2 separate regions of the Homo sapiens genome follow, and region 2 is linked to region 1. Evidence: promoter capture Hi-C in human tissues and cell types (Jung and others, 2019). All regions are on one chromosome and are shown on one strand. The core of a region is centred on a gene start or on the middle of the fragment in contact, and the rest is flanking DNA. Distances in the headings are between cores, read along the strand shown.

Region 1 (3,913 bases), core at 1,013-3,512:
ATTTAACAGATGAGGAAATGGAAGCTTGGGCAGTGGAAGTATCTTGCCGAGGTCACACAGCAAGTCAGCAGCACAGCGTGTGTGACTCCGAGCCTGCTCCGCTAGCCCACATTGCCCTCTGGGGGTGAGTATGTCTTCACATCCTCCAATACCCTAATGACAGACAAACAGAACATGGCAAAGCCTCAGCTCTGCATGGTGAAAGTAAGAACCAGCAATTGCCACAAACAGAAATACAGTGTTGGTCCGGCAGCCTCCGGGGGTTCTGCACAAGTGGATTACCAGTGAATACAAGGCTATCTATCTTTCGAAAAACCAAAGTTGTATTTATGCTATCTATTTTCTATAAAATTTTATATTAATTTATTTGTTACCTATTTTTGAACTCTTTCAAAAGCACACTTTATATTTCCCTGCTTAAACAGTCCCCCGAGGGTGGGTGCCCAAAAGGCTCTACACTTGTTATCATTCCCTCTCCACCACAGGCATATTGAGTAAGTTTGTATTTGGGTTTTTTTAAAACCTCCACTCTACAGTTAAGAAAACTAAGGCACAGAGCTTCAATAATTTGGTCAGAGCCAAGTAGCAGTAATGAAGCTGGAGGTTAAACCCAGCAGCATGACTGCAGTTCTTAATCAATGCCTTTTGAATTGCACATATGGGATGAACTAGAACATTTTCTCGATGATTCGCTGTCCTTGTTATGATTATGTTACTGAGCTCTGTTGTAGCACAGACATATGTCCCTATATGGGGCGGGGGTGGGGGTGTCTTGATCGCTGGGCTATTTCTATACTGTTCTGGCTTTTCCCAAGCAGTCATTTCTTTCTATTCTCCAAGCACCAGCAATTAGCTTTACCTTTTCAGCTTCTAGTTTGCTGAAACTAATCTGCTATAGACAGAGACTCCGGTGAACCAATTTTATTAGGATTTGATCAAATAAACTCTCTCTGACAAAGGACTGCTGAAAGAGTAACTAAGAGTTTGATGTTTACTGAGTGCATAGTATGTGCTAGATGCTGGCCGTGGATGCCTCATAGAATCCTCCCAACAACTCATGAAATGACTACTGTCATTCAGCCCAATACCCAGACGAGAAAGCTGAGGGTAAGACAGGTTTCAAGCTTGGCAGTCTGACTACAGAGGCCACTGGCTTAGCCCCTGGGTTAGTCTGCCTCTGTAGGATTGGGGGCACGTAATTTTGCTGTTTGGGGTCTCATTTGCCTTCTTAGAGATCACAAGCCAAAGCTTTTTATTCTAGAGCCAAGGTCACGGAAGCCCAGAGGGCATCTTGTGGCTCGGGAGTAGCTCTCTGCTGTCTTCTCAGCTCTGCTGACAATACTTGAGATTTTCAGATGTCACCAACCGCCAAGAGAGCTTGATATGACTGTATATAGTATAGTCATAAAGAACCTGAACTTGACCATATACTTATGTCATGTGGAAAATTTCTCATAGCTTCAGATAGATTATATCTGGAGTGAAGAATCCTGCCACCTATGTATCTGGCATAGTGTGAGTCCTCATAAATGCTTACTGGTTTGAAGGGCAACAAAATAGTGAACAGAGTGAAAATCCCCACTAAGATCCTGGGTCCAGAAAAAGATGGGAAACCTGTTTAGCTCACCCGTGAGCCCATAGTTAAAACTCTTTAGACAACAGGTTGTTTCCGTTTACAGAGAACAATAATATTGGGTGGTGAGCATCTGTGTGGGGGTTGGGGTGGGATAGGGGATACGGGGAGAGTGGAGAAAAAGGGGACACAGGGTTAATGTGAAGTCCAGGATCCCCCTCTACATTTAAAGTTGGTTTAAGTTGGCTTTAATTAATAGCAACTCTTAAGATAATCAGAATTTTCTTAACCTTTTAGCCTTACTGTTGAAAAGCCCTGTGATCTTGTACAAATCATTTGCTTCTTGGATAGTAATTTCTTTTACTAAAATGTGGGCTTTTGACTAGATGAATGTAAATGTTCTTCTAGCTCTGATATCCTTTATTCTTTATATTTTCTAACAGATTCTGTGTAGTGGGATGAGCAGAGAACAAAAACAAAATAATCCAGTGAGAAAAGCCCGTAAATAAACCTTCAGACCAGAGATCTATTCTCTAGCTTATTTTAAGCTCAACTTAAAAAGAAGAACTGTTCTCTGATTCTTTTCGCCTTCAATACACTTAATGATTTAACTCCACCCTCCTTCAAAAGAAACAGCATTTCCTACTTTTATACTGTCTATATGATTGATTTGCACAGCTCATCTGGCCAGAAGAGCTGAGACATCCGTTCCCCTACAAGAAACTCTCCCCGGTAAGTAACCTCTCAGCTGCTTGGCCTGTTAGTTAGCTTCTGAGATGAGTAAAAGACTTTACAGGAAACCCATAGAAGACATTTGGCAAACACCAAGTGCTCATACAATTATCTTAAAATATAATCTTTAAGATAAGGAAAGGGTCACAGTTTGGAATGAGTTTCAGACGGTTATAACATCAAAGATACAAAACATGATTGTGAGTGAAAGACTTTAAAGGGAGCAATAGTATTTTAATAACTAACAATCCTTACCTCTCAAAAGAAAGATTTGCAGAGAGATGAGTCTTAGCTGAAATCTTGAAATCTTATCTTCTGCTAAGGAGAACTAAACCCTCTCCAGTGAGATGCCTTCTGAATATGTGCCCACAAGAAGTTGTGTCTAAGTCTGGTTCTCTTTTTTCTTTTTCCTCCAGACAAGAGGGAAGCCTAAAAATGGTCAAAATTAATATTAAATTACAAACGCCAAATAAAATTTTCCTCTAATATATCAGTTTCATGGCACAGTTAGTATATAATTCTTTATGGTTCAAAATTAAAAATGAGCTTTTCTAGGGGCTTCTCTCAGCTGCCTAGTCTAAGGTGCAGGGAGTTTGAGACTCACAGGGTTTAATAAGAGAAAATTCTCAGCTAGAGCAGCTGAACTTAAATAGACTAGGCAAGACAGCTGGTTATAAGACTAAACTACCCAGAATGCATGACATTCATCTGTGGTGGCAGACGAAACATTTTTTATTATATTATTTCTTGGGTATGTATGACAACTCTTAATTGTGGCAACTCAGAAACTACAAACACAAACTTCACAGAAAATGTGAGGATTTTACAATTGGCTGTTGTCATCTATGACCTTCCCTGGGACTTGGGCACCCGGCCATTTCACTCTGACTACATCATGTCACCAAACATCTGATGGTCTTGCCTTTTAATTCTCTTTTCGAGGACTGAGAGGGAGGGTAGCATGGTAGTTAAGAGTGCAGGCTTCCCGCATTCAAAATCGGTTGCTTACTAGCTGTGTGGCTTTGAGCAAGTTACTCACCCTCTCTGTGCTTCAAGGTCCTTGTCTGCAAAATGTGAAAAATATTTCCTGCCTCATAAGGTTGCCCTAAGGATTAAATGAATGAATGGGTATGATGCTTAGAACAGTGATTGGCATCCAGTATGTGCCCTCGAGGCCTCTTAATTATTACTGGCTTGCTCATAGTGCATGTTCTTTGTGGGCTAACTCTAGCGTCAATAAAAATGTTAAGACTGAGTTGCAGCCGGGCATGGTGGCTCATGCCTGTAATCCCAGCATTCTAGGAGGCTGAGGCAGGAGGATCGCTTGAGCCCAGGAGTTCGAGACCAGCCTGGGCAACATAGTGTGATCTTGTATCTATAAAAATAAACAAAATTAGCTTGGTGTGGTGGCGCCTGTAGTCCCCAGCCACTTGGAGGGGTGAGGTGAGAGGATTGCTTGAGCCCGGGATGGTCCAGGCTGCAGTGAGCCATGATCGTGCCACTGCACTCCAGCCTGGGCGACAGAGTGAGACCCTGTCTCACAACAACAACAACAACAACAAAAAGGCTGAGCTGCACCATGCTTGACCCAGTTTCTTAAAATTGTTG
Region 2 (3,913 bases), core at 826-3,325, 460 kb before region 1:
TGAGACAAGGTGGGACCATCACCCCTAATTCTCACAGGTGGCTCTGAGACAGGAAAGTGATCAGCAGAGTTAAGTGGCTAAAAGAAGAGCCATTGGTGATTGGAGGGTTATGAGTGAGAGGGAAGTCAGAGAGGAGAGGAAGGTAGGGGCACTGTTCAGGCGCAGATGATGAATTTTGATTTATTCCACTTCAGGAAGATTTTTAAGTGGGGTGTGGCATGATCCAATTCATGTTTTAAAGATCTCTAAAGCCCCCAGGAGAAGAAGGGTGGTGGCTGGGGGTTAGGGGTGGTGCAAGGAAGCAGGGATGCCAGTCAGGAGCTGTTGCAGTTGTTCAGGAAAAAGATGGTGGTGGCGGAGTTGGAGTGACGGTGGTGGTTGTGGTGTAGAGAGATGGATGGCTTTTGACTTACTCTGGGGGTAGACACAATGGTGAAGATTAGAATTGAAAGAAAGGAAGGCATCAAGGATGACTTGGGTTTTGAATCTGCACGTTTGGGTGGTTGGTGGTGCTGCCCCTGGGAGGGGAGGATCAGCAGAGAGCAAGTCTGGGGATGCTACCCGGAAGATGGTAGCCATGAGCATGGGAAGAGCTGAGGTCAAGAGAGAGTGGAGGCTGGCAGCGACCTGGCTAGGAGCAGCTTCCCAGGCATCAACAAGGCAGACTGTGATTGGCTGAGGAGCAAATCAATGGGAAGTGAGGATGTGGAAAGAGGATGTGTAGGTGAAACTTGTGTCAGGTTTGCTATGATAAAGTATCAGGAGTAATCCAATAAAACAACAAAAAAATGTAAATGGATCTCTTTTGGGTTCATTTGCAATTAAATGAAAGAAGTGATTCTAAGAACCTTGCTTGTATTCAATTCAGCTGTGTCCTGGTAACTGTTGCCACAAAATTTAGTGGTATAAAAACAATAACCATTTTATTTTATTCGCCATTTTGTGAGCCGGGAATTTGGAAGGGGCTCAGCAGGGCATATTTAGCTTGGGGTCTCTCATGTGGCTGCAGTTAGATATTGGCTGGGGCTGTGGCCACTGGAAAGCTTAACTGGAAAGCTTAACTACTGGCTTAGGGCCAGTAGTTGATGCTGGCTGCCATGCAGGGCCCCAGCACACGGCAGCTTCAGCAGGGAGGGCTCAAGGTACTCAGACCTTTTACATGGCAGCTGGCTTCCCCTGTGCAAGAGAACCAAGGGGAAGTTGCAGGTCCTTTTCTGACATGGCACCGGAAGCCACACAGTGTCCCTCTGCTCTTCCACTGGTCAGAGCAGCCAGAGGCCAGCCCGGAGTCAAGGGACTCGAGACTCCACCTCTTATTGGAAGGGTGTCAAATAACTCTAGGGCCATATTTTAAAATCACCAAAGGTGGCTACTCTGTAAATTAACTCATCTTTCAATGATCCCAATCACTCGGTCCCCCAACTTGACTAGCTGACTAATGCCCAGAAGTAATCAAAAGAGCCAAGAGAGTAAAAGGGATTGGACAAGGTGTGGATGTCTTTCTCAATGATAACAGCTATCACATTTTGAGGCACAGAGTAGCTAAGTGACTTGTCCCAAGCCAGAGGAAGTAGGTAGTGGCACTAGGAGTTGGATCCACGTCTTTCTGATTCTAGAACCCAATCTCTTAGAGGCTGTTGTACTTTCTCCCCAGTTGAAGTTCAAGCACTGATGTTCCAGTGGTCAGTTTGCACCATATGATCTGGATATAGCTCTTCTCACAAAGGCCCTGAGTCAGGAGGACAGGGGGCCCTAGCTGGGCCAGCCCCTAGGCAGGGGAAGAGGAACTCTGGCCATATTGTGGCTTCCTCCCAGGCCCTCCCCGCTCATGGCTTTATGCCGTTCAGCTTTGCTGGTAAGTAGGTCACCCCTTTGGTGAATGCAGAAAGACATCAACAACTGTGTAATGACTCCAGCATATAGGAATTGGGCATTTGGTTTTTTACTGGGAATTTGAGATGGCCGTAAGATGATGTGAATGTCTTTTTAGAAATTAGTTTTCGCATTTTAAAAGTTAAACTGGCACCTACTAAAAATACTTCAAACGACATAGAAAAGTATAAAGAGAAAAGTAAAAGCATCTTATTCCTGCCACCAACTCCAAAGCCCCACCAGCTCCATCTGCCAAGGCAGCCACTGCTGTGTCCAGCGTCTTTGTCAGGAAATGTCGCATGGGTGTGAATAGTGTTCGTCACATAGTCTCCCAGGGTGCCGTCATATACTGCTTCAATCCAACCCACTTTGAACAAATCCTTTCCTGTTTTTTGCTATCACAGACATTGTGGCCATGAAGATTGTTGCGTGTGTTTTTGCGTACTTGTATGAGTGTATCTGGAGGAGAAGGTGGGTGTTTTACTGAAGATGAAAATTGAGGTGGAAATATGTGCAAGAAGGGAAGATTATAGACTCTTTGGTAGAAATATTACAAAAATGGTCCCAATTCTCTACCCCTCACTGTCCCTGTGCCCTTTATAAAGTGACTTTGCAGTTCCTCCCATCCAGAGGAGTCCCTTTTCCCACACCTGGAATCTGGGCTGGCCTGTGACTTGCTCTGACCAACAGAACACTGTTGAAATGATGTGCCAGGTCTGAGACTGGGCTTTGCGAAGCTCGGGCACTTTTACTCACTCTCTTGGAAACCTGCTCAGTGGCCATCTGAATAAGCCCAGGCTATCCTGTTGGGGTCAGGGAGACCACATGGAGTACAGCCAAGTTGTCTGGCCAAGACCATCCTAGCCTAGCCAGCCTTTCTTTGACCAACTGACCACAGATGTAGGAGTCAACCCCAGCCACGATTAGCCAATGAGCAGCCAACCCTCAGACATGTGGGAGCACAGCCTCAATGCGTAGCTGACCACGGGCAGACAAGGGAGTGAGCCCACCAAGAGTCCAGAGCCCCCAGTCAACCTGCATATTCGTGAGCAAAATAAATCTTCAGTGATTTAAGCCACGGTTTTGAGGTTATCCAACTTCAAATAACGCAGAATAATGCAGCTTGGTCTGACAACAGGTAACTGATACAGCCTTTTGTATTAACAATCATAATAAAGGTCTGAAGGTCAAGGGCTGCCATAGCAAATCCTGGTTTATGGAAAAGCTTTTTATAAGTCATCAGATAATCTAAATTCAAGTAAAATGAGAATGGTTTAGAGAAAACCACTCCTACAGCTGTCTCAGCATAACGCAGTAGCAGTAATATGTTCTGTAAATGGTTCAGACTTACCATCTTCCCTGGGTCTTGGTTCCTCATCTGTAAAAGTGGGCTGACTTACAGCAAGAGCCTAGAAAATTATACAATTACACAAATTAAACAATGCTACTATTGTTACTATTAACAAACCAGTGCTGCAATGAGCTGATCTTTCTCTTGTTTTTCATGAGGACCTGCCACAACCTAAAGATCCTTAACTTTTTTTTTTTTTTGGCCTCATCCACACCTTTGACAATCTGACAAAGCCTATAGCCCCTTTCTCAGAATGCTTTAAAATGCAAACAATAAAATAGAATTACAAACCAATTAAATTGAAACACAATTCTCCAAATATTAAAGCAGATATATGAACTAGTAATATATGTGTCTTTTTACTAATGCATTACATAAAATCTATCAGATCTAATGACAACCTTCATTTCCGAGTGGAGATAAACATAAATGATACTTTGAGAGTCTGCAGAAATTGTCATGTAATACAAAAATATCTGCCATTTCTACTGGTGACAAAGTGACAGGTCTAGCTAGTACTAGTGTGGCATGTTGTCTCTAGTCATAATTGAAGGAAGACTTAAATTTTAATTAGTAGTTAGGGTAAAGATGCCATTTTTTCCCCCACCCATTTTCAAAGACCTTTGATTCTGTGTACCGACCAGCTTAGGAACTCCCTCCTAAACTGACCTCCCCAACGCATACCCCCTG

The links. Contacts are between HindIII fragments. The study calls those that stand out against the background at their distance.
Region 2: a fragment that was not itself captured here is called in contact with the fragment with the promoter of CCR5 in region 1 in 1 of the 25 tissues and cell types used here (pancreas).

The regions. Positions count from the first base shown.
Region 1 is chr3:46,368,684-46,372,596 of GRCh38, forward strand. CCR5 (C-C motif chemokine receptor 5) reads left to right here and starts at 2,263. Exons shown (of 2, transcript NM_001394783.1): 1 at 2,263-2,305. CCR5AS (CCR5 antisense RNA) reads right to left here. Exons shown (of 4, transcript NR_125406.2): 3 at 2,561-2,734. The HindIII fragment of the contact is 4,319 bases long and covers 575-3,913 here.
Region 2 is chr3:45,909,897-45,913,809 of GRCh38, forward strand. It overlaps a transcript of LZTFL1 not described here. Among named protein-coding and RNA genes, the nearest start is that of CCR9, 25 kb to the left of the region's middle. The HindIII fragment of the contact is 4,074 bases long and covers 39-3,913 here.